2 separate regions of the Homo sapiens genome follow, and region 2 is linked to region 1. The links are contacts of gene promoters, found by promoter capture Hi-C in blood cells and fetal thymus (Javierre and others, 2016). All regions are on one chromosome and are shown on one strand. Each heading gives the region's core, a stretch centred on a gene start or on the middle of the fragment in contact. The rest is flanking DNA. Distances are from core to core; before and after follow the strand shown. Region 1 holds the start of BAZ2A (bromodomain adjacent to zinc finger domain 2A). Region 2 overlaps LOC124902945 (a long non-coding RNA gene).

Region 1 (7,172 bases), core at 2,674-5,173:
GGTGACAAGAAAGGTCAACAGCAGGAAGACACTGTCAGTAACCCTAACAAGCTTTGCTTCTCTCCCAGTAATACTTGATTCCAGAGCCGCAAGACTACAAGATGAACCCTTCATTCTAGACTGGCTCTGGGGTCAGCCCATACAGCTCTCTTTACACCTCAGATTTTTTCTTTCATCGAGAAGCTTGAAATATTAAGAAATATATTTCTCTGACAGAAAAATGCACCCATTTTATAAGAAGGCCATGAAAGGTTTGCTTCATTCAGCTCCCAATTCAATCATGTATCAAATGAAATCACTATTTTCTCAAAATCAGCTTTTCTTTTAAAAGTCCAAAGACTCAAGAGTAGTTATCTCTCCTTTCTTTACTCTTTTAACCCCCAACAGGGAAAATCAACTTGCTGTTCTGTCAAGTGCCAATTCAGGTAAGCAAAGGCTGAAGAAAGGGGAACTTAAAATCAGCATCAAATCAACCCCATCAGACAGCAACTTAAAGGAACTAATCAGGGGCAAGAAAAAGGATGCTGACATCAGATGGACTTGTTTTTACTGTTTCCAGAATATCAAAAACCCCAACAGCCCCAGTGAGAAGAGCAATGATGCTGCTATCTTACTAGTGATGATGCCACTTTCACACAATCATAAGTGTCTATCTGCTCCCATACTGGATCTTTAATCTAGGGATCTTCATCTAGGTGGGAGGGGTTTTTGCCTGGAAAATAAATAGTGAAAAGATGATTTAAATGACAGGCTTACGTAGTTTTCAGAATAGTCCAAATAATCTGAAAATGTTATCTTTCAAGGCTTGGCCCTGTGGCTTATGCCTGTAACCCCAGCACTTTGGGAGGCTCAATTCGAGTTCGAGACCAGCCTGACCAACATGGTGAAACCCCTTCTCTACTAAAAATACAAAAATTAGCCAGGCATGGTGGCGCATGCCTGTAATTCCAGCTACTGGAGGGCTGAGGCAGGAGGATCGCTTGAACCTGGGAGGCGAGGGTTGCAGTGAGTCCAGATGGTGCCACCGTACTCCAGCCTGGGCAACAGAGCGAGACTCCATCTCAAAAAAAAAAAAAAAGAAAAAGAAAAAAACAAAACTTTATCTTTCAAAATCTAAAATCCTGTGGTCCTGGGGTCATAGGCCGGGCATGGTGGCTCATGCCTGTAATCTCAGTACTTTGGGAGGCTAAGGCAGGCAGGTCACTTGAGCCCAGGAGTTCAAGACCAGCCTGTGCAAACTGGCAAAACCCCACCTCTACAAAAATTACAAAAAATTAGCTGGATGTGGTGGTGCGTGTCTGTGGTCCCAGCTACTCAGGGGGCTGAGGTGGGAGGATCACTTGAGCCAAAGAGGTCGGGGCTGCAGTGAGCTATGATGGCGCCACTGCACTCCAGCCTGGGCATCGGAGTGAGACCCTGTCTCAAAAAAAAAAAAAAAGAAAGAAAGAAAGAGAAAAGAAAAGAGAGAGAGAAGAGAAAAAAAAGAAAAGAAGAGAAGACCAGGCATGGTGGCTCACACCTGTAATCCCTGCACTTTGGGAGGCCGAGGTGGGTAGATCACCTGAGGTCAGGAATTCGAGACCAGCCTGGCCAACATGATGAAACGCCGTCTCTACTAAAAATAAAATAATTAGCTGGATGCGGTGGCGGGCTCCTGTAATCCCAGCTACTCGGGAGGCTGAGACAGGCAACTCGCTTGAACCCGGGAGGCAGAGGTTGCAGTGAGACAAGATCACACCACTCCAGCCTGGGCGACAAAAGCAAAACTCCGTCTCAAAAAAAAAAAAAAAAAAAAAAGACAGAAAGAAAAAAAAAGAAAAGAAAAAGAAAAGAAAGAAAAATAAAATTCTGTGGCCAACTGTTGCCCCTAACCAAATCCAGTGTGCCACAAAATGCCTGGGGACATAGCACACAGTCCATCACTATATGTTACAGGAGAAATATCCTGGGATTATCAAGTGAAAAGAAAGAAAAAAAAAATCTGGGCACGACTTTGCAGGGAACAGAGGAAAAGCTTACCAATCTCCAAGAAGAATAAGAGGGGAGACGTTCTTTTATGGATTAAAGAGTAAGTCATATGATAACAAACTGTACTATTCTAATTAGTTGATTCTGCAGAAGGTAGTATCTCCAGCACCCCTTAGTCAAATAACAAGCTTCCCACAGGGGCTGCCCTTAGGCTAGAATCACCACCAAGGACTGAGTTCACCAATCTCAGTCTGTTAATCAGTCCCTACCCCCGACACACAAATCCATCTAATAGTTAAATCTTCCTCACCCCTTCCTCTTCGTCCATTTCTTAGAATCTACCCTTCTTCACAAGCTCACTTGCTCAGGTGCTCTGCAATATAGAAACTGTCATAATAACTATACTAAAGTAGGACCCCAAGAAGCTACTCGTGCCACAAAAGCTCTCTAGTCTCCCTGACAGCTCTCTATGCTGAGGGAATTTGCATCACTTACATAGAGCGTACCCCGCTGGTAGATAACTGAGTTTGCTTCTCTATGACCTCTAGCTAAAGGGAAAACAAAACGAAACCAGACAGGAAGACAGAGATGTTCTGGAGAAGGGATTGGGATACGTGAGTCAACTGAAGTTGACTACTTCCAGTTGACAAGTTTACAAAAAAAAAAAAAGTCCAACGAAAGGTCTCTCGGGCCACATGGTTGGCAAGATCCAAGCTTGCCCAGAAGGCTTCAGAAAATGAAACCAAATCTGATTAAAATGGACATTTCAAAACAACAAGACACGCAGCAGCAAACGCACAGCTGCCATTTCCCGGCCACTTCCTGCGGGAGGCTGGGGGAGGGGCTGTTTGTGTACAGATAGAGGTGGAAAGCTATCCCCTCCGTCGTCCCCCAAAGCAGACAAATCTCTCACTCCAATTAACCCTACAAAGGACAACTGCTATTGACATTGCCTTCTCCTGAAAACTGGGAACACCGGGAAAGAAAGGGATGATGCGGTATCATCTTTCTGCCACGGAAGCGGGGATCCCCTCAGTGAGGAATCTCCTTGGAAAAAGGAATTCCTCTTTATTCTTCCCTTCTGCCCCTCAGCCCAGCTCAAATTGGAAAGCCTCAGCGGAAGCCCTATCAACCTCCATCCCCGGAGTGCGCGATTCTCCCGGGACGCGAGGGCCCCAAGCCAAGCGCAGCACCACCCTCAGCAAGGAAGGCCCTCTCCTGATCTTCACGCTCAAGAGAATGGGTGCGCTCCCCGAGGGAGACACCCTCAGACCCCTGGAAACCCCTTCCGCCCTCCACTCACCACAGTCAAAACGCCCAGCTCCCCGCAAACGGAGCGTTTTAACCCGCCAAGGGAACCCCCTCACCCACCCCTCGCGCTCAGGCAATCCCCACCCCCACCCGAGGAGGTGGAGCCCCTCCCGGGGATTCCACCCCAAGTCCCCCACAGGAGTCATCTCCACCAGCCAGGCGGCTTCTCCGCCTCCTCACTGTCGCCGGGAGCCCCTACAGCTCCTCCTGCCCCCGCGGCCCCGTCCGGGGTCCTCAGCAGCCCCACCAGCCCTGTTCTCCTCCCAGACCCCAGAGCAAGGAGACCCTCGCCTCGGGTTGGATCCTCGCAGGAAATAAGCTCCCGTCGGCTTCCCGCCCCGGCAAGGCTCAAGCCGGCTCTGGAGCTTCTGTTCCCCGAGGGAAGCCTCGGATGAAAGCGGGGCTCCCTCCCCCTCAGGCCCCTGGCCACAGACCCCACAAACCTGAGGCAGCGGCGTCCAGCCGGGCTCGGGGCTCGTCTCTCCCCGGGGTACAAGCGGTTCACATGGCCGCGCTCCGGGCGCCAGAACGGGTGGAGACGCCCGCTGGGGAGGGGGTCTGGGGTCCGGGGTTCGGGAAGGGGGAGGGGGACGCGGCTCAACCGCGGGGCCCGAGAGGAGCCAACATGGCCGGCGGGGGAGGAGTGAGTCGGAGCCGGAGGGGGCGGAGAAGCCTCGGCCGGGAGAGAGTCTCCCCACGCGGCCTCCGCCACAGGGTCCTAAAGCCCGCCAGCCCATCTTTCCGACCCGGACCTGGGTCCTAGCGCCGCTGTGCCTCCTGCAACTCTGGCCACCTTGCCCACCTGGCAGCTCCCTCTGCACCCGCATCTCATGGAGGCAGTGGTCCTGCTTCACACAGGGCAAACTGAAAGGCATGCCACAGTCCCAAGGTTAACTTAAAAGACTAGACCAAACGTCTAGGCCCAAAGGCAGGTGCCACTTCTCTAACAGGCTGGTAGGGGTAAGAGTCAGGGGAATTTCGGGGGCAGTTATTTCCCAGGTAGGGTAATGGAAACGTGGAAATAGAAAGGTTAGTCACTCAGGTCGCGATTCAGTAAAGGGATGGGGAGAGGCAAGAGTCAGCCACCCACTCACCTCTGTCCCTTCAGTGCAGCCTGGTCCTGCCTGGATCACCACTTTCCTGGCGACATCTGCAGGGCCCTGGTCACCGGAAAGGAAAGATTCCTGTGCGTGGGGGAAAGAAGGTTCGGCTCTGGAACCAGACAGCAAAGACCTGAGTGTAGCCTAAATGCAGTCAGAGAAGTAAAGGATAAGCTGAAAACTAATCAGCAAAAAGATGCCACAAATGTCCACCCATTCTATGGTTCTGGGAATTTTTTTCTGACAGGGCTACATAACTGTGTGAAAACTCAGAAAAGTAAAATCTAGCAGAGGACTAGAGTTTGGCTGTCACCTAAAATGTCCACTGCAGGGCACCAGGATGAAGAACAGTGTCATATGATGTTAGAGCTTAGAGAATTTCTAGTTCAGGCCGGACGCGGTGGCTCACGGCTGTAATCCCAGCACTTTGGGAGGCCGAGGCAGGTGGATCATGATGTCAGGAGTTCAAGACCAGCCTGACCAACATGATGAAACCCGGTCTCTACTAAAAATACAAAAATTAGCTGGGTGTGGTGGCGTGCCCCTGTAATCTCAGCTACTCAGGAGGCCGAGGCAAGAGAATCGCTTGAACCTGGGAGGTGGAGGTTGCAGTGAACTGAGATCGCGCCATTGCACTCCAGCCTGGGTGACAGAGGGAGACTCTATCTCAAAAAAAAAAAAAAAAAAAAATTCTAGTTCAACCTTCTCTCCTTCATCAAATGAAGAAATTAAGACCCAAAGAGGTTCAATGACTTCTTCAATGTCAAACAGTGGATAAAATATGACAAGAAAGGAAACCAGGTTTCCTTTCCTTGCAACTCAACACTTTGCAGCCTTGAAGATAATTCCCATTTAATTCAATGCAATGCAGTTCTAGAAACAGTTGCCTAAACTGTGCAAAGCTCAGGCTGCTGAATATTCTGGAAAAGCAACAGAGTGGGGATGATGAAACTCTGGCAAGTTGGGGTGTCAACAAATACGTTTTCCTCTGGGGGTCTGAGGAGGAAAGAGATCTGAAAAATGGGCAGAGTTGGGGGGTGAGATCCATCAGTCTACATTGGATTTCCTTACTCCACAGAGGGGTGGGCTCTTCCTGAATTTTGGGGAAAGACTCCACCCCTCCACCCCCCCACTACAAATGGCTCAGAGAGGATAAGAAGGAAGCTAGCTTTAGCAAAGGCTCACAGAGTGTGTGGGCCACAGACACAGAAGGCTAAGGGGGTTTCTCTTCCTCTCTCGAGATAAGTAGATTACCAGTGGAGGGAATAGGCAGGTGGAAACCAAAACCCTTCTCTCCTCCCTGTCAAAACAACAGATTTACAGGTCACCTTGGGGAAAAAAAAATACTCCTCCAACAGCCTGCTGACCTCAAGTCCCTGAGTAAGTAGAGGTCACACTCAGGGTAGAGGTTTCCTTCCTTCTGGAGAAAGGAGGGCTCTGGCAAACTTCTGCTAAGAAATGCCTCTCTATCCCCAAATAAAAAATTAAGGCAGGTGAAGAAAGGCATAAAACTGAGGCCTCAAGGGCGGCGGGATGGGGGTGTGGGTAAGGAAGCTGGTATCCTTTTGTCTTCCCTGCCCTTTTCCAGAGCAGATGAGGGAGAATCTTCCTACCTCCTGCTCCCAATCTTAAAGGGGGCCAGTCGGGGACTGGGCAGGCAGGGGAGGAGCCTGCGCCCGTCAGACGGGTGTAGCCACGCCCCTCCCCACACCCACACACACCCACCACTGGCTCCACTCTGCTCCGGAAGAGCCGGTTACTCCTGTGCCCCACTGACCGCCCCCACCCCTTCCGAGCCCCAGGCCTAGTCTCCAGGGCAACCTTTAGGACTATTCCAGCCAGGAGCGGTTAGGAAGAGGGGTGTTGGATAGGAGAGGACCACTTGGGATTAGAAAAGAAAATGAGGTAGGATCCATTCTTCCCATCTGGTGCAGAAAGACTACAATCATCCTCATTCCTGAATGAGACCCCACCTCATCTCATCTAATCAGGATCTTCCTTGCTCTGAGGAAGGATGAGGTTGGGGTGACAGTGTGCCCAACAGCTGGATGTTTACTTCTTGCTAGAAGTCACCCCATGCTGCAGCTGTGCTTCTCCCCCCATCCAGACGAGAGAGGGCAGACTGACCCCAAATGTCCCGAAACACTCCTCAATCCCATCAGATGTGGCTGATCACCCACCCACCTCTCTTTTCCCCACCCATTTCCCTTCAGGAAGCTACTAGAAAGGGGAAGGGGCAAATGGTCATTTTATCAGCAACTTGTAAGGAGAGTCTCCAGGGAATAGGCTGAACCTCCCTCAAGCCAGGCCAGTGGACTAGTCATGAAGAGAATGGGGAGGGACAAATTAGCACCTGCACCCCCTTTCTCACCCTCCCTGTGTTCCTGCAGCACCTCCCTGACTCTGGGGTCAGCTGCCACAGTGCCTGGCTCCACTCTGTAGCCAGATGGCTAGGGCTGGGAGGAGGAAGAGAGAGAAGGGGATTCGTTTGCATCCCTCTACATCCTTCCCTCTCCCCCACCAGATACTCCTGGCATCCAACCCCAAACACCACTGCTGAACACCCTCTCCTCCCCCCAGCACCCCCTCCAAACATGACTTAGAAGAGTCTGAAGCAGATCTTGGCAGCCAGTCCCCTAATTCTGGAAGTGAGGAGTGGGAAATGAAAGAGCATAGCTAGGGGCGCAGCTGGACTGGGGGTGGAGGGGGAATTCTCTAATGGAGGTGGGATAATTATTAAAGACCTGCCTTCCCCTCACTGGCTGAATGGATCATACTGTTAACAGGATCTGT
Region 2 (7,172 bases), core at 1,970-4,469, 360 kb after region 1:
CAGCCACAACCACTCTAGGACTTCTGCTTTGGAAAACAGAAAGCTCAAGCCCCCGAAAATAAAAGTCCTGGAAATGTTCCCAGTTAGCAGACACTAGGTCTCCCCTAGTGACACAGAGAGAAGAGAAACAAACAGGCACTAGGAGGGATTGAGGTGGTCCCTCTGTCCCCCACACACTCCTTCACCCACTGGGCAGCTGCAGCAATGCTCTCTGTCTTGGTGATGTCCATGGTCACCGTCTCCAGCCTGTCTGAAGTCTGGCCCCTCAGCTGCTTGGTCCCCTTCTCTGTCCTACATGCAGCTCCCGCAAGCCTGTGCATTCAGTTGTCTGGCCAGTAGCTTCCTGAAGCGTGAGTCACAGCTCATGATGAACACGTACTTGTCTCTCAGGTGACTCACCACCTGCCTCTCCCAGTACCAGTGCAGAAGGTAGTATAGGCCCAGGAGGACCGCCAGGTAGAGCCACATGGCTTTGCAGAGGACAGACCCAGACGGGCTGGGGTGAAGTGAGAGTCTGGCCTCTGTTCAGACAGGAGGACTTAAGAACACAGAGGGCTGAGGTAGGCAGGGAAGCCCTCAGGCATTTTGGCAGAAAGTCCTCACTTTCCTCTCTGATCACTGTCTTTCTGCACCATTTTTTATCCTGGCTTCATCTCTCTGCTCTTTCAACTGCCTTTGCAGGTGTTCATGCATGCAACTGCAAACCCCAAGCTCTGCCCAGTGAGTAGTTATCACTACTCAGCAATGCTTCCCTAGTCCACCAATGCCTCTCTGCCTTGCTGTGCCTACTCAGGTGTCCACACAGGGGCCCACACACACACACCATGAAACACACCACTCTGATCTACAAACAAGGGTCAGAACTTGTCTCTACATATCTTGTGATATGGTTTGGATATTTGTGCCACCAAAATTGCATGTTGAAATGCGTTCCCCAATATTGGAGGCAGGAGCTGGTGGGAGGTGTTGGGTCATGGTAGTGGATCCCTCATGGCTTGGTGCTGTCCTGGAGACACTGGAATGAGTTGTGATGGGATCTGGTTGTTTAAAAGTGTGGCACCTCCCCAGCTCTCTCTTTCTTGCTCCCACTTGCCATGTGACAAATCAGCTCCCCCTTTGACTTCTGCAGTGATTATAAGCTTCCTGATGCCTCACCAGGAGCCAAGCAGATGCATGCTTGTACAGCCTGCAGAACCATGAGCCAATTAAACCTGTTTTCTTTATAAATTACCCAGTCTCAGGTATTTATTATAGCAACACAAGAACGGCCTAACACACATTGTATACCAACACTCCTGGACCATGGTCTCCCAGAAAACAGACTTTACTGGGAAGCTACACATGGTTTCCAGGCACATTCAGTGGAAATCCTGCTCTGAGCCTGAGTTTCCTCATCCCACCCAGCATCCAGAATCAATCACTCCCCAGAAAAGTAGGGCACGATCAGGCTCTCTAGGATGAGAAGGAGAAGGCAAAAAAGTGAACAAGAGCAAGTCCCCTCCTGCTACAGTAGTTTTCTGGGGCAGAAAGATGTGGAACACCCACAGGGAGAGTCCAACCTCACAGGTAAAGAAAGGGGAAAGAAGGGAATGGAGCCTTGGAACCCACAGGAAGGAAGTACCCAGGGCTGCTGGGAAGGGGAATGGAATGACTTATGCAGGTGTCACAGGGCTCACCTGCTCACCTCCTGATATGCCCTGGGTGCTGGCTCCACTGCCCTCTGCCCTCCCCTGTCAGGGCCCACATCCAGGATCTGGACCCCTCAGACACTGAGAGGCTAAAAACATTGCTCATTTGAACAAGGACAATGAGGATGGTGGTCCAAAACCTTGCCCAAGCAGGGAAGGATATGAACCCTAGTAACTGTAAAGGTATTACTTCAGTTTGTATCAGGGTGTTGATGGACAGGAGGGATCTCCTTCTCAGGAGACTACAGAAAGGGGTACAGACTGGACCTCTGCTGTCCATGGAGGGTCCCTCGGTGTGAGGTCGAGGAAACTATTTCATAACTGGTGGGCAGGATGTAGAGGGGCAGGGAGCTGGGGGAGTAGGTGTGGGACAGAATAATCCAGGGTTTATTTGCACTGGGCCTCTCTCCCACTGTCCATGTTTGCCCAATTTCTGTCCCCTAATTGAAGGAAGAAGTGGAGATGGACTGGGAGGGGGAAGGAGAGGTTTCCTGCAGAAACCAGAGGCTAGCAAAGAGCCGCGCGCCCCCTGGTGGTTCTTCTCTAGCCCTGCAGTCACGACGTGGGCATCGGCCTGGGATCAGCCAAGGCTCTTCAGCTCATCCCAATGGCCACTCTCTCCAGCATCGGGGAGCCCCCATATCTCCCTGCACGGATCCTCCAAGAAGGAGGGAAACAGCAAGACTGCTGGCTGGTAAGAGACTGGACTACTGTTAATTAAGCAACATGGATGGTGCCTTGAGTGTGCTGCATACTAGAGGTTTGACAGACTCGGAGCCCCTTGAGGGCTCCGAGACTGAGTCCAGTCATTTTTGTATTTCCAGCCCCGGCAGTGCTAGCTTCTAGCAGAGATGAAGGAATGTTGAGGTAGCTGACACTGCAACATCTGGCTTCGCTTTCCATTTTCATCACTATTTCTTACATCATGCGACAATATGAGATTTCCTAAAGCCTCCATTTTTCTCATCTTTATAACGAGGGAGGAGAATCAAGATGACTTTGTCAAGTCCTCCCATCTCCAATTTCAGGGAGTCTAAGAATCCATATGCCTTTATTAAAATGGTGAAAACTTAGAAAGATGGGGTCTTGGGAAGCACTGGAGAATTTCTGACCAGCATACATTAGGTGCTCAACAAAAGTTAACAGAAACGGAAGAAATCTGGAACCAACAAGAGACTTACCACATCTACAGAGAGGCTGGGGGAGGGGTGCAGATCAGGAGATGGGAGAGTGAGGGAGAAACAGAAGCTGGGAGAGATAGGAGACCAAAGGAAGGGGGAAGGGTGGCGGCATGCGGGGAGGCTGCTAGTGCTGTAGGCGGCAGAGGGATATTAATAGTACCTGGGGCCCTTCCAGTCTCTTATCAGTCTTTTCAAGCTTCCTCTTCCTTAGACTGATGTCACACCCTCCCTTCTCACACTTGGGAAATCACAGAGGAAACAGTTGTCCTTCATCTAGTGAAAGATAGGGAATGGGAAGCAAAGACATTCACTTTCCCCTTTTCAAATCCCTCCGAGATCATCCTACAAATCCCTCAGCCTTCATGAAGGAGACACCTCCTTCCTCATGCAAGAAATTTCCTAGAATTCCCAGGGCTGAGTCAGCTCCACACAAGTGGATACCCAACATTGCTGTTTTTATCCTGACCCCAGTCTAGCAGAAGCTCTCCAAGGGTCATTTTTTTTTAAAGCTTTTGGACATCATGGGCCCCTTCGAGAATCTAAGGAAGGTTATAAGCCCCCCACATAACACAACAATCAAAAACTTGCTTATACTTTTCATACAGTTCACACCTAAAACCATTAGCTGCATGGAATCCAGCTCAAGAATCCTTGTAATATGGGCTTATTGACCTACTAGCTGTGTGACTGGGGCAAGTTATTTAAAGTTTCTGTGCTTCAGTTTCCTTGTCGATGGTAGTACCCACTCCATGAAGTTGTTATGAGGATTAAATGAGGTGATATGGATAAAGCCCCTTACAACTGTGTCTAGCCAATGGTGCGTATTCAATAAACATCAGCTGTTACTATTACTACATTTCTCTGTGGTAATTCATAGTGACATTTGGGAATGTTCCCACCCTTCTATGTAAAAAACACAACCCAAGACAGCCAAATAAAAGAGGAGGCTCATGTTGATCTAATTCAGAGAGGAAAAAAATGGCTGGTGGTAATAGGACTAGAGAGGTCTCTCAGTGTCAATTCCACAAGATGGGATTCCTTTTTCCTTATCCCCATGAAGTGGAAAAGGAGCATGCTTGTATATATTATCTCATGTATCCCATATAATAACCTGTAAGGGAAGCATCATTATCCTCACTTTACATATTAAGAAACTGACATTAAACTCCTATCTCTCACCAGACACAAAAATCAACTCAAGATGGATTAAAGACTTACATATAAGACCCAAAACTATTATTAAATTATTAGAAGAAAATCTAGTATTGCAGGAAAAATCTACTATCTAGTATAAGGAAAAGTCTCCTGGACATTGGACTAGGCAAAGAATTTATGACTAAGATCTCAGAAGCACAGGCAACAAAAACAAAAATAAACAACTGGGACTTAACTAAACTAAAAAGCTCTGCACAACAAAAGAAATAAGCAACAGAATGAACAACCCGCAGAACTGGAGAAAATATTTGTAAACTATTCATCTGACAGGGGAGATATCCAAAATATACAAAGAACTCGAGCAAGAAAAAAAAAAACCCCACAAATAATCCCACTAAAATGTGGGCAAATGACATGAATAGACATTTTTCAAAAGAAGACATTTTTCAAAAGACATTTTTCAAATGGCCAACAGATATATGAAAAAATGCTCAACATCACTAATCATCAGAGGAATGCAAATAAAAACCATGACGCGATATCATCGTACCCCAGTCAGAATGGCTATTATTAAAAAGATAAAAAAAAAAACAGATGTTGGCAAGAATGTGGAGCACAGAGAACTCTTAGACATTGCTGGTGGGAATGTGAACTAGTACAACTTCTATGGAAAACAGTATGCAGATTTTTCAAAAAACTAAAAGTAGAACTGCCATTCGACCCAGCAATCCCACTACTGGGTATTTACTCAAAGGGGAAGAAATCAGTACATTAAAAAGACACCTGCACTAGTATGTTTATCACAGCCCTATTCACAATAGCAAAGACATGGAATCAACCTAAGTGTCCATCAACGAATAAAAGGATAAAGAAAATGTGGTATATATACACAATGGAATACTATTTGGCCATAAAAAGGAATGAAATTATGTCTTTTGCAGCAATGTGGATGGAACTGGAGATCATTATTTTAAGTAAAACAATCGAGGCACAGAAAATCAAATATTGCATGTTCTCACTCATAATGTGAGTGCTAAAAGATGTGTACACATGGATGTGGAGAGTGAAATGGTAAACAGTGAAAACTTGGAAGGAAGAGGGAATGGGAGAGGAGTGGATGATGAGAAATTAGTCAATGGGTACAATGCATGTTATGCTTGTGGTGGATACCCTAAAAGCCCTGGCTTGACCAACATGCAACCTATTCATGTAACAAAACTGCACATGTACCACATCAATCTGTACAAATAAATATTTAAAAACAAAAAACAAAAGAAAAGAAACTGAGATTCAGAAAGGTTAAGTGACCTGCCCAAGATCACACAGCTACCAAGTGGTGGAAAAAAGTGTCAAAAACAGGTCTGACTCAAAAACTGGTGTTATCTCCACAGTGTCTCGTGAAGGGCCGGTGAAGAGGGAAGAACTGAGCAGAGAGAGCCAAGGACAGGGTAGTGGGGCACAGGCTTTGAGGAGCCTGGAAAGCTCCTAATCTGGTACTTCTGGGCAAACCAGATTCCTCTCTAGCTTGGGGAAGCTGGTGGCAGGAGGGCAGAACAACCTCCACGACTAGACTTGGCTTCCTGACTCAGTGGCCTTCTGGAAGTTCACACTGTGGACGCGAGTGCAATTACTGCCAAATCCCTCAGCCTTAACCTGTCCACAAAGCACCTGCCTCCACCCCATAAGCCAGGCACGTGGGTTGATCCCTGGGACAGCCTGCCTCACCCCTTCTGCCAGGGTCCAAGCACAGCCCTTTGCCTAACCTGACCCTGGAAAGTCGTCTGCCTTTATCTCTGCCTCCCAATACCTCCTCCCTGGTACCTTCCTTCCTTTCTGATTGTTGATCGCAAAATCTTGTCTACACTTTTTTGGGGAAAAAAAGTGGGGCGGGGAGGAAAAAGAGTAAATTTCCAGGAATTGTTTCACTGCTGCTGTTTCTGCTGCATAGGGCAAAGCTGCTGGCCTGCTCCTTTTGCCCAGGTTGGCGAGGAGCCTGGCCTCCTGCTCCTCCCTCTTTCTCTTCCTCCCAGTCTCTCTCTTTCCAGCTGCACCCCACCCCCTAAAAAGCCCCACATGAAAACTGCAGAGCTATCACTTATTTCTTCCTGAGGGAGGAGCTTTCCCTCTGAGCCTCTGCCAGAAGGAACCACCATCACTTCCTCTTTCTACAAATACACATTGGGTGACAGGAATAGGTGGGAGAAGGCAGCAGGTAGAGGTGAGGCTGCAGGGGGGATGTCTCCATATGGGAAGGACAATTCAGAGACCCAGGAGACAGGAGCCACTAAAGGGCAGTCTTGTGAGGAACGGAAGTGGTCACAGATGTGGCCATCTGGAGAGGACAAAGACCAGACCAGGGCCTTCCTTGGAGGGTGCTTGATCTAGGACAGGCTTCATTTGCATGGGTCAAAAGCATGTAGTGGGAAGGGGAAATTCTCAGAAGGCTCCTTACTGAAGAAAAATATCAATGGGATAGAAACTAAGACCCTAAAGGGAGAGAATAAGAGCAAAACTAACTGAAAAATCGAAGTAAGCCACATTTCACACTGTCATGGTTCATCATGATGGTTTTTTGTTTTTGTTTTGTTTTGTTTTTTTGAGACAGAGTCTCACTCCACGGCCCAGGCTGGAGTGCAGTGGCGTGATCTCAGCTCACTGCAACCTCCGCCTCCTGGGTTCAAGAGATTCTCCTGCCTAAGCCTACTGTGTAGCTGGGATTACAGGCATGCACCACCACGCCTGGAATTTTTGCATTTTTAGTAGAGACAAGGTTTTACCATGTTGGCCAGGCTGGTCTCGAATTCCTGACCTCAGGTGATACACCTGTCTCAGCCTCCCAAAGTGCCAAGATTACAAGCATGAGCCACCTAGCCTAGCCCATTATTTTTTTTTTTTTTTTTTTTTTTTAGGAGATGGGATCTAGCTCTCTAGATCCCATCACCCAGGCTTCAGTGCAGCAGGGTGATCATGGCTCACTGCAGCCTTGAATTCCTAGTCTCAAGCGATCCTCCCACCTCGGCCTCCCAAATACAGACTGTACCACCACAACTGGCTATTTTATTTTTTGTAGAGATGGGGGTCTCATCTTGTTGCCCAGGCTGGTCTCAAACTCCTGGGCTCAAGCAGTCTTCCCACTTCGGCCTCCCAA

The links. Contacts are between HindIII fragments. The CHiCAGO score rates a contact against its expected background, and 5 or more counts as called.
Region 2: a contact is called between a fragment that was not itself captured here and the fragment with the promoter of BAZ2A in region 1, in 2 of 17 cell types (megakaryocytes and endothelial precursors). The highest score is 11.2, in megakaryocytes.

The regions. Positions count from the first base shown.
Region 1 is chr12:56,626,403-56,633,574 of GRCh38, forward strand. It overlaps BAZ2A (bromodomain adjacent to zinc finger domain 2A), which reads right to left and starts at 3,924. Exons shown (of 29, transcript NM_001300905.2): 1 at 3,723-3,924. RefSeq lists enhancers at 801-1,302, 4,081-4,130, 4,161-4,230, 6,780-6,829 and a silencer at 3,511-3,860. The HindIII fragment of the contact is 7,835 bases long and covers 2,681-7,172 here.
Region 2 is chr12:56,985,493-56,992,664 of GRCh38, forward strand. All of the region lies in intron 2 of LOC124902945 (a long non-coding RNA gene), which reads right to left. It also overlaps the pseudogene LOC390332. Among named protein-coding and RNA genes, the nearest start is that of ACKR5, 5.4 kb to the right of the region's middle. RefSeq lists a cis regulatory region at 5,662-6,476. The HindIII fragment of the contact is 313 bases long and covers 3,064-3,376 here.